Regions from separate parts of the Homo sapiens genome. Here region 1 is linked to region 2. The links are contacts of gene promoters, found by promoter capture Hi-C in human tissues and cell types (Jung and others, 2019). All regions are on one chromosome and are shown on one strand. The core of a region is centred on a gene start or on the middle of the fragment in contact, and the rest is flanking DNA. Distances in the headings are between cores, read along the strand shown.

Region 1 (6,019 bases), core at 175-2,674, 34 kb before region 2:
AAATGTTAAACCCACTTTGTATCTCTGGGATAAACATTACTATATAATATATTGTCCTATTAACATATTGTTAGATTTGATTTCCTAAAATCATTTAGAATTTTGGCATTTATGTTCATGAAATATGTTGATCTTTAACTTTCTTTTCTTATAATGTATTTGTCTGCTTTTATTATCAGGGTAATGCTCACTTTATAAAATTGGTTGGGTAAGCATTCCATCTTTTCAATTTTTTGGAAGAGTTTGTGTAGAATTGCTGTTATTTCTTCCTTAAATATTTGGAGGATTCACCACTGAAGTCATTTGAGCCTGGAAATTTTTGTGGGATGGGTTTAAACCAAAAATGAATTTTCCTTAATAGTTATAGGGCTATTCAGACTGTTTCTTTTTGAGTGGGCTTTGGTAGTTACGTTTTTTATTTTACCTAAATTGTTGCACTTACTGGCATAAAGTTCTTCATATCTTTTCTTATTATTGTTTTAATATCTATAGAATCTTTACTGAGGATACATCTCATTTGTCATGCTGATAATTTGTGTCTTCTAAAATTTTATCAATTTTATTATCTCAAAGAACCAGCTTTTGGTTCATGGATTTTCTCTGTTGCTTTCCTGTTTTCCATTTTATTGATTTCCACTCTGATTTTTATTTCCTTTGACTTACTTTGGCTTTCATTTGCTCTTATCCTTCTCATTTCTTTCTTTCTTTTTTTCTTAACTACACCCTCATTTCAGCAATAATTTCTGATTTCTTAAGGTGGAAGCCGAGGTAATTGATTTGAAACTTTTCTTCTTTTATCATTTAGTAAATCTCCTAGGTACTGCTTTAGCAGTATGCCACAAATTATGATACTGGGTTTCATTTCATTCCATTCAAGATACTTTCTAATTTCTCTTTTGATTACTTCAGTAGAGCCATAGGCTATTTAGAAATGTGTTACCTAATTTCCAAATAGGTGGCAATTTTCCAAATGTCTTTCTCTGATAGATTTCTAATTTAGTCAGAGAACCAATTTTGTATTACTTGGATGCTTTTAAACTTACTGAGATTTGATCTCTGGTCCAGGATATGGGCCCATCTTGGTGGAATATTCCATGTTCATTTGAAACTAATGCATATTCTGCTGTTGGACTGTTGGGTAGAATGTTCAATAAATGTCAACTAAGTTGAGCTGGTGGATATAATTTTCAAATCTGTTATATCCATACTGATTTTCTGTATACTTATTCTATAAATTATTGAGAGAGGGCTATTAACGTTTTTAACATTTATCAGGAATTAGTTTATATGTTTCTCTTTGTAGTTCTGTCAGTTTTTGCTTCGTGCATTTTGAAGCTCTGTCATTAGGTGAATATGCACTTGAAATACTGATTGATTAATTGACCCTCTTGATTAATTGACCCTTTAATCATTATGAAATTACCTTCTTTACCCTTGGTAATATTCTTTGCTCTGAAGTTTACTTTGTGTGACATTAAGATAAACTTTACAGATTTATTTTGAGTAGTGTTAGCATGGTATATCTTTTTTTTTTTTTTTTTTTTTCCGAGACGGAGTCTTGCTGTCGCCTAGGCTGGAGTGCAGTGGTGCAACCTCGGCTCACTGCATGCTCCGCCCCCCGGGGTTCACTCCATTTCTCCTGCCTCAGCCTCCCAGCATGGTATATCTTTCTATCCTTTTACTTTTAACCTCTTCATGTCTTTTTTATTCAAAGTGCATTTTCTTAAGGCAGCATATAGTTGAGTCTTGTCAGGTTTTAAAAGCCAGTCTAACAATCTCTGCCTTTTATTTGGGACGTTTAGACCATTTGCATTTAATACGATTATCCATGTAATTAGGTTTAACTCTATCATCCTATTATTTGTTTTCTCTTTGTCCTATCAGTTATTTGTTTCCCCCTTCCCTCTCCTCCTGCTTTTTTTTTGGAATAATTGAATATTTTTTCTTATTCCATTGTTAGCTTTCTTCTTTTTGTTGGCTTATTAGCTGTAACTTTGTTGTGTTATTTTACTGATTGTTTTAAACTTTGTAGTATACATCTTTAACTTATCACACTTTATCTTCAAGTGATAATGTACCACTTTATATATAAGAACCTTAAAATATTACAATTTCATTTCTTTCCTCCTAACCTTTGTGCTCTTCTTATACATTTTTATATGTTATAAAATCAATATTACATTGTTTTTATTTTTGTTTAACCAGTCAATTATCTTTTAAAAAATATTTGAATAATAAGAAAAACATTCTCTATGTTTATCTATGTAATTACTATTTCTAAAGCTTTTTATTACTTTGTATAGATTCATATTTCTATCTGGTGATATCATTTCATTCTCCCTGAAGGAGTTTCTTCCACATTTCTGGTAGTTCAGTTCTACTTGTGGTAGATCCTTTCAGGTTTTGCATGTCTTAAGAAACAGTTATTTCACTTTCCTTTTTGAACAGTATTATTGCTGGGTATAGAATTCCGGGTTGACAGCTTTCTCCCTCCTCCTTTATTGCTTCAGCAAATGTGCTTCCTTATCACTGTCTTCTCTTTTGCATTGTTTTAAATGAGAAATTTGATGTTATTCTTATCTTTGTCTGTACATATGTGTCGTTTTTCTCTGGTGACTTTTAAGGTTTTCTCTTAAAAGCTCCATATTCCGGTTTAAGTAATGTGATTATGATGCACCTTGGACTAGTTTTTTTTCATTTTTTTTTTAATCTTGGTGTTTGTTGAACTTTTTGGATCTATAGGTTTATAGTTTTCATAAAATTTGTAAAATTTTCAGCTATTATTTCTGTAAGCTTTTTCTCACCCTTTTCTTTCTTTCACAGACTCCCATTACATTAGGCTTTTTGAAGCTGTCTCACCACTTAGGCATACCTGTTCTTTTTAAAAAATTTCTTTTTTCTTTTCTTTCTTTCTTTTCTTTCTTTCTTTTTTTTTTTTTTTGAGATGGAGTCTCACTCTGTCACCCAGGCTGGAGTGCAGTGGTATGATCTCAGCTCACTGCAACCTCCACCTCCCAGGTTCAAGTGATTCTCCTGCCTCAGCCTCCCAAGTAGCTGGAATTACAGGCATGCACCACCACACCCAGCTAATTTTTGTACTTTTAGTAGAGACAGGGTTTCACCATGTTGGCTGGGCTGGTCTTGAACTCCTGACCTCAGGTGATCCACCTGCCTCGGCTTCCCAAAATGCGGGGATTACAGGCATGAACTACCATGCCCAGCAAAAATGTTCTTTTTTCTCTCTGTGTTTTATTTTAGATAGTTTCTATTATGGTTCAAGGTCACTGATCTTTTCTTCTGCTCTGCCTACTAACATTAATCCCATCCAATGTATTTCTTTAAATCTCACACACTGTAGTGTTCATGTTCAGAAGTTTTATTTGGGTCTTTTTCAATATCTTTTATATCCCTAACTTTTGGAACACTTGCAATACAGTTATAATAACTTTTAAATATTCTCATCTGCTAATTCTAACATCTTTGTAAATTATGGGTCAGGTTCAATCTCCTTGCTATGAGTAACATTTTCCTGATTCTTTGCTTTCCTGGTAATTTTCGATTGAATACCAGACCTGGTAATATTTTTGCTTTATGGGTTGCTGGATAATTTATTTATTTATTTATTTATTTTTGAGACAGAGTCTCACTCTGTTGCCAGGCTGGAGTGCAGTGGAGCGATCTCGGTTCACTGCAACCTCCATCTCCCGGGTTCAAGCAATTCTCCTGGTTCAGCCTCCCAAGTAGCTGGGACCACAGGCACATGCCACCATGCCCAGCTAATTTTTGTATTTTATTTATTTATTTATTTATTTATTTTTACTTTTATTTTTTGAGATGGAGTCTTGCTCTGTCACCCAGGCTGGATTGCAGTGGCACAATCTCGGCTCACTGCAACCTCCGCCTCCTGGGTTCACGCCATTCTCCTTCCTCAGCCTCCCAAGTAGCTGGGACTATAGGCACCCACCACCACACCCGGCTAATTTTTTTGTATTTTTAGTAGAGATGGGGTTTCACTGTGTTAGCCAGGATGGTCTCGATCTCCTGACCTCATGATCCACCTGCCTCAGCCTCCCAAAGTGCTGGGATTACAGGCTTGAGCCACCGCGCCCAGCTAATTTTTGTATTTTTACTAGAGATGGGGTTTCACCATGTTGGCCAGGATGGTCTCGATCTCTTGACCTCGTGATCTGCCTGCCTTGGCCTCCCAGAGTGCTGGGATTACAGGCGTAATCCACCACACCCTGCCTTTTCTTTCTTTCTTTTTTTTTTGCGACAGAGTCCCACTCTGTTGCCCAGGCTGGAGTGCAGTGGCACGATCTCGGCTCACTGCAACCTCTGCCTCCCAGGTTCAAGCAATTCTCCTGCCTCAGCCTCCCAAGTAGCTGGAGCTACAGGTGCGTGCCACCATGCCAGGCTAATTTTTGTATTTTTAGTAGAGACAGGATTTCACTATATTGGCCAGGCTGGTCTTGAACTCCTGACTTGGTGATCTGTCCACCTCAGCCTCCCGAAGTGCTGGGATTACAGACGTGAGCCACTGCACCCGGCCAATTTCGTATTTCTGTAAATATTCTTTAGCTCTGTTCTGGGATCAGTGAAGTTACTTGCTCTTTTTATATCTTGCTTTTAAGATTGGTTAGGTAGCAATAGAAGTGTGCTCGGTCTAGGGATAATTATTCCCCGTTACTGAGGAAATGCCCTTCTGCGTACTCTGCCTAATGCCTGGTGAATCTTGAGATTATTTACTCTGGCAGTGTGTGAGCACCATTACTTTTAATCATTTTGAATGGTTCTTTCCCTCACCTCAGTTTTCTCACACATATGCACTGACTAGTACTCAGTTGGAAGCTTGAGGGGGACCCTCTGCAGATTCTCCTGTCTGTGCAGTTCTGTCTTCTCTGGTACTCTGTGTCCTATGAACTGTGCTGTCCACTTTGCCAGCAGATGACAGGTCCATGGTAGGGAAAATACCAGTATATCTGGCATCAGTAGTCTTGTCTCCGCCAATGCTTATAAAAACAGAAGGAGACAGATTACTAGCTTAGTTCATTTTGTGTTGCTACAACAGAACACCTGAGATGGGTAATTTATAAGGAACAGATATTTATTTATTATAGTTTTGGAGGTTGGGAAGTCCAGGGCAAGCAGTCCACCTCTGGTGAGGGCCTTCTTCTTTGTGTCAGCCCATGGCAGAAGGCAGAAAGGCAAGAGAATATTCATATAAAAGACAGAGAGCCAAATACACTTTTTTTTTTTGGACAGGGTCTTGCTCTGTCACCCAGGTTGGAGGGAGGGCAGTGGCACAATCACAGCTCACTGCAGCCTCGAACTCCCAGGTTTAATCAATCCTCCCACCTCAGCCTCCCGAGTAGCTAGGATTACAGGCACACACAGCCATGCCCAGATAATTTTTTGTATTTCTTTTAGAGACAGAGTTTTCCCATGTTGCCCAGGCTGGTCTTGAAGTCCTGGGCTCAAGCGATCCTCCCACCTCAGCCTCCCAAAGTGCTGGGATTACAGGCGTGAGCCACTGTGCCTGGCCCAAACTCACTTTTATAACAAACACAGTCTCACAGTAATAACATTAATCCATTCATGAGGGCAGAGCCCTCATGACTTACATCTTATTAGGCTCCACGTCCCAACACTGTTGCATAGGGAATTAAGTTTCCAACCACGAACTTTAGGGGATACATTCAAACCATAACAATGACTGAAAGGGCATCTGATTTCAGCTTACTAAAAGACTACCTGACGTTAAGAGCAATGCTTTCTTTGAAAAGAATTATAGACTGTGGGCTGTGCCAATGCTCCTAGACATCCATTATTTAATAAGCTCCTTGTTATTGCCACAAGTTATGTGTTAAGCAGTAATTGTTCAGTGGGGAACAAACTTTAATAGGTATAGACTGAAACTGCAGTGAAAAAAGGCAAGAGGCTGTGTAGATCTTAGATAATGGGGTGACTCTTGATCTCTGCTATGTTCCAAACATCTAGACAGCTGTCTCCTGCAGTTTTG
Region 2 (5,773 bases), core at 2,723-5,222:
CCCTGGGGACACATTCAGTCAAACCCATCCTATTTCCCATAGCTGCAGCCCCACCACATCGGACTGTCAGCATCACAGAAAAGTTCAGGAAGAGTTTAGAGATATCCTTGCTGTCCCCAGTCTCAGACTAGGTTGCACTGGGCTCCAGGAAGGAGGCTACACATTTATTGAGCTAAGCATTTTTTTTTTTTTTGAGACGGAGTCTCGCTCTGTCGCCCGGGCTGGAGTGCAGCGGCACCATCTCAGCTCACTGCAAGCTCCGCCTCCCGGGTTCACGCCATTCTCCTGCCTCAGCCTCCCGAGTAGCTGGGACTACAGGTGCCCACCAACACGCCCAGCTGATTTTTTCTATTTTTTAGTAGAGATGGGGTTTCACCGTGTTAGCCAGGATGGTCTCGATCTCCTGACCTTGTGATCTGCCCGCCTCGGCCTCCCAAAGTGCTGGGATTACAGGCGTGAGCCACCGCGTCCGGCCGAGCTAAGCATTTTCACTAGAAGGCAAGGAAGACGTAGTCCTAAAATAATCCTGGTCCTGTGGCCTGAGGGTGCTACTCCACACTCTTCACCAAGTGACAACACAGAGCAGTACTGTCCAAGATAAGCAGGACCTGAGTCATCTGAGCCCTCTGATTCTGGGGAAACAATGTCCTCCCAGAAAAGGGAAAACTGTAATCATTTTTCCCCCTTCAAGTTCCATTCATCCACTCGTTCATCCATCCATCCGTCCATCCTCCATCCATCCATCCATCCATCCGTCTGTCCATCCATCCATCCGTCTGTCCATCCATCCATCCATCCATCCATCCATCCATCCATCCATCCGTCCATCCATCTGTCCATCCATCCGTCTGTCCATCCATCCATCCATCCATCCATCCATCCATCCATCTGTCCATCCATCCATCCATCCATCCATCCTCCATCCAATGAACACTGAGTGCCTATTCTGAGGCAGAATTGTATTAAATGCTAGAGGCAGAAATAAAGAATTATGAAATGAGACCCCTGACATATAGATATTCATGGTCAGGGGAACAGTATGCTTCAGTGGAACAAGCATAGATTTTTGGAGCCAAGAGGCCCAGGTTCAAATCCCAGCACCATCACTTACTTGTGTGTGGCCTTAGGACAAATCACTTAGCTTCTATTTATTCACCCCAGTTTCCCGTCTGTAAAATGGGGCTAATAATTTTTACATTTCAAAGTTCTTAAGGGGATGAAATGAAGTAACATGTAAAACTCCTCGTCCGAGTTAGATGCTCAGGAAATAAGTCCTATTCCAGGCCCTCTGAAAGTATGGATGAGATTAGAAGATGAGGGTGGTGAGAACATTCTGTGGTGGCCAGTGGTTCCTACTGCAGCAAAGGTGATAGATTCATTCAGCTACCTGTCGTCTTCACCCTGCACACTCCTCAGTGTGGAAACAGCCCAGTCTCAGCTAGGCTTTCCAGGATGCCTACCTTTTGCAAAGATGAGAGTCTCTGGCCTCCAGGAGTTTACTAACCAGTCTGAATACCAAGTGGGTCTTGGAGGCTAGGAGAACTTGAGTGAGGAAGGGCTCAACATTAGAGAGTCTCTGGCCTCCAGGGGTTTACTAACCAGTCTGAACACCAAGTGGGTCTTGGAGGCTAGGAGAACTTGAGTGAGGAAGGGCTCAACATTAGAGAGTCTCTGGCCTCCAGAAGTTTACTAACTGGTCTGAATACCAAGTGGGTCTTGGAGGCTAGGAGAACTTGAGTGAGGAAGGGCTCAACATTAGAGAGTCTCTGGCCTCCAGGGGTTTACTAACCGGTCTGAACACCAAGTGGGTCTTGGAGGCTAGGAGAACTTGAGTGAGGAAGGGCTCAACATTAGAGAGTCTCTGGCCTCCAGAAGTTTACTAACCAGTCTGAATACCAAGTGGGTCTTGGAGGCTAGGAGAACTTGAGTGAGGAAGGGCTCAACATTAGAGAGTCTCTGGCCTCCAGAAGTTTACTAACTGGTCTGAATACCAAGTGGGTCTTGGAGGCTAGGAGAACTTGAGTGAGGAAGGGCTCAACATTAGAGAGTCTCTGGCCTCCAGAAGTTTACTAACTGGTCTGAATACCAAGTGGGTCTTGGAGGCTAGGAAAACTTGAGTGAGGAAGGGCTCAACATTAAGATGGTGGGACTAAGGCCAGAGGCAGTCAGATAAAAACAGGGAGGGACCAGGTAGCTCTTTTGGGGGAAAGTCAAACTGTACCCCCTGGGCCAGGTCAACCAGGCAGCTGTTCTCTGACAAGGTGAAGGAGAGGTGACAGGACTGCTGGGCTGTTGCTGTTCATCCTCACAGAAAGCATGTCACACTGTATGTGCTAAATATAATTTTTGAGGGAACCAACAAGGAAATTCACCATCTTGGCTTGTCTGATCCTCTCCCCTCTTTCTCCTTTTTATGGAGAGGCTGGTGTTTTGTTCTGGAGTAGCTGTAGCTAGGTGATCACATGGACTTTGATGTCCCCTCTGCAATAACTCTGTGGTCAATCCATGGTGGACCTGACATGCAGGGACAGGCCACACCTGAGCACCGGGGTAGCTCAAGTATGGATTCTGGCTGGGCCATGTCCTACTGTGCCACAGCTGACCCCCAGCCCGGCTTCTGCTTTCATAGAGGCAATGGGTCTGAGAGCTGAGACCTGCTCTGCCTTCCTCTTCATGTGGAACCCCACAGGAGAGGCTGAGAGGGGCCCGAGAGACATATCGTGGGGGTGCTTGATGGAAAACTACAGACTGAGAGTCTCACTTCACACCCCACCCCTGCTGGGAAGTTCTAAAATACACAGAGGAAGCACATGTAAAAGGAAATTTCCCTTTCTCCCTGCAACTTCCTCTCCCTTCATACCACCTAGAGCTGAAGAAGCACCTCCTTTGTCTTGAAGGAGGCACCAGCTATTCTGAATGAAGGGCGGTGGGACAGTGCTGTACCCCACACCAGGTGGGCGTGCTCAGGGACAGTGACCAGGACGCTGTTCTGGAGGAGCTCACTGGGCACACGGCATAGGGCACATGTATTCAAAAAATACCCTTCCCCATTGATAGCTGGCAGGCCACTCCAGACAAATTCTAGCTAGGTGCCTGGTGCTATGCAGTGACCAGAGGTGCCTGGGACCAGACACCCCACCATCCCAGCCTCTGCTTCCAGAGGACACACAACAAACACCCACACCTCCCCTTAAGCACCTATGATATCCCTGCACCCTCACAGCAACCCCGCAAAGTAGATATTGTGTTGTTACCTACCTTTGACAGACTGGGAAACCAAGGCTGACCCTTGCCTAGCTGTCGTGACTGATACATGATAGAGGAGGAGAAGAAACTCAGGTCTGTCTGGTCCCAATCCTGGGTCCTCTCTACATTGCTTCTTGAGGTACGCTCTGGGTGCTTTCTCTAGGAAAATCCCAAGGAGAAGGGTTGTGAAGGTCCAGGGCCTTGCCTAGAAGCCACAGAGGGCAGGTACTTGGTGGAAAACTCCAGCGTGTGATTCACCCTCCTCCCTTGCCCTCGTCAGTGAGGTCACCTCCCCTCCCAAGGTTCTCAGTTTATAGCCTGGAGTCTCTGGTAAGAGAGGGCTGTCCCCTGTGCTGCACATACCCGTCTCCTCATCCCTGGGAAGGAGATGGTTCTGGAGGGGGATAGGGGAAAAGGGGGAAGGGGGAAGGGCAAGGAGGAGGAGGAGGGGAGATGAGGTCAGGGTGTGAGTCTCTGAGCCCCTTCCCCTGCCCAAGGGAGCAGCAGCTCAGCCCAGCTCTGGAGGGGCCATCATGGGACTGTGCCCACGGGGAGGGCACCGGTCTGGAGACAGTGGGTTCACAGTGGGAGTGGGATGGGGGTGGGAGCGCTGGGGACAGAGGACTTGACTTCCTGAGGTTGGATGTTGTAATCTCGGTTCACAAACTTTTGGCCTCAGTCCCTCCTGCTGCTCCTGGTATTTCTCTGTCCTTTCACTCCCCAACACACACAGCCCCCGCCCCAACACATACACACACGGCTTCTTTCTGTCTGGGAGTCCCTGGACAAGTCACATGGGATTCTGCGCTGGGAGGAACAGGGTAAGGCGTGAACGTGGAGGGCAGTTTCCCTTTCAGGTCCCGGCTCTCTTGGCTTTCCCATAAGCAGCTGCCTTGGGACTCTCCTGGAGACCTGATGCCCACAGCCAAGCTGACCACAGGAGCCGGTGCTGGGGACTGAGGTGAGCGGGAAGTGGAGGGGCTGGCTCTGTCTTTGCAGTCTCCAACTGCTGCTCAGAGGGGCTGGAGGGATAGAGCCCTGGGAAGCGAGACTCTGTGGAACTGCGTGTCTGCAGCGGGGGGCAGGACCTGCAATAACCTCAGGCCAAAGGGCAAGTCTGATGCCCACGACTCTCAGGACAAGGGGTGCCCCCTAGCTCCGCCCCATCCAGCGTGGGAGCAGCTCAGTGATTAGCCTGTGGAGCAGGAAAGTCCAGCGATGGGCAGCTGGTCACGGCAGTGGGTGAAAGCAGGGGTGGTCATCTGACGAGGGGAGGGGAAGCAGGTGGTGCCCAGCAAGGTGGAAGGAGAAGTGGACAGGAGAAACCTCGGGGCATTCCCGAGGGCCCAGGAACTGCAATAAATGATCACAGGTGAGGGGTTCCTGCCCGCTGCCTGCCGGCTGAGCGTGACGAGCTGGGTGCCAGGCGCCTCCCAGGAGGAAGCTGTCTTGGCTTTGGGCGGTGGATGCTATGGGTGTGCTTGTACCCGAGGGGGGCACTCAGGGGAGTTGCAGGCAGCCACCAGCTGAGACCGGCACTCACGGGGTGTGAAGGACTACAGAGAGAGCCAGGTTTTGGTGCCATGCACACAGGTATGTGTGTGCGAAGGGACGTGACGGGAAATGGCACCAGTGTGTGTATGGGAATGGGTGTTGGTATGTGGGTGTGGACTGAAGCAGGGGCTGGGTGTCCCATCCCCCCGTGTGCAGGGTCTGAGCTATTCCTATGCTGGACTGGGGAGCAAAGGGGACAGAGCTGGGATCCCAGCAGCACATGGGCAGCAGCATTTCTGGTCTCGTCTGCACCTCTGCTAGCCCCAGCTGGGCCTCTGGCGACATGCCCAGCTCCTGAAAACAGACTTAACTTTGGACTTTCTAGTCTCTTGAAGATTTGCTCTCTGGGCAGCACCAAGCCCGGTGTGGAAATTGGTGTGTTTGCTTCTGGAGGGCACTGAAGTATGATGAGGCCCATCCCCCACCCCTCACCCCCCTGTCCCGGCTTAGCAAAGCAGGTGGGCGGCCTTGGAGGAGACTCGAGGGGCTGGAGAGGCGGCCAGCCGAAGCTGGAGGTGGAAGGGCACAGCGGGGGTGGGGTGTGTAGTCCTTTGCCTTTTAAAAGTAGCCCAGAAAGGAGAACTCAGTACAGCTTGTTTTGGTGTCTAACATCCTCTGGGCCATTTCTTCCCTGAGTCTAACTTAAATCCCTCTTGCTGCAGTTTAAGCGTGTTCCCTCTTGAGTTACCACGGCTCGGGGCCAGCTGTCCTTTTCACTTGCTCTTGCTTTCATTCTGCCGTTCTGGATTTTCATTCTGAACCACAAGTTACGCTCCTCCCGATTACTTTTTTATTTTCATTTTTATTTTTAAAAAATCATGTTGCGTCAGTGTCGGTTCACCAGCTCATGTTCTCTTTTTGCACTTCCCCTATTTCTGATGAAACCCAAATCCTGGGCCCAAACTGGATTCTGTGATTCGCTTCCCTGCCCCTGCGCCCCTCCGGCTTTCCCTTCATTTACTCCTTCCCCCAG

What was found. The method cuts DNA at HindIII sites, captures the fragments that hold promoters and counts their contacts. A contact is called where the count stands out against the background at its distance.
Region 1: a contact is called between a fragment that was not itself captured here and the fragment with the promoter of SLC6A12 in region 2, in 6 of the 25 tissues and cell types used here (H1 embryonic stem cells, IMR-90 fibroblasts, dorsolateral prefrontal cortex and 3 more).

Annotation. Positions count from the first base shown.
Region 1 is chr12:243,930-249,948 of GRCh38, reverse strand. The region is part of intron 2 of SLC6A13 (solute carrier family 6 member 13); the gene reads left to right. Among named protein-coding and RNA genes, the nearest start is that of SLC6A13, 16 kb to the left of the region's middle. The HindIII fragment of the contact is 4,795 bases long and covers 1-3,821 here.
Region 2 is chr12:212,356-218,128 of GRCh38, reverse strand. It overlaps SLC6A12 (solute carrier family 6 member 12), which reads left to right and starts at 3,972. Exons shown (of 16, transcript NM_001122848.3): 1 at 3,972-4,207. RefSeq lists enhancers at 4,091-4,862, 5,574-5,623, 5,635-5,773. The HindIII fragment of the contact is 37,462 bases long and covers 1-5,773 here.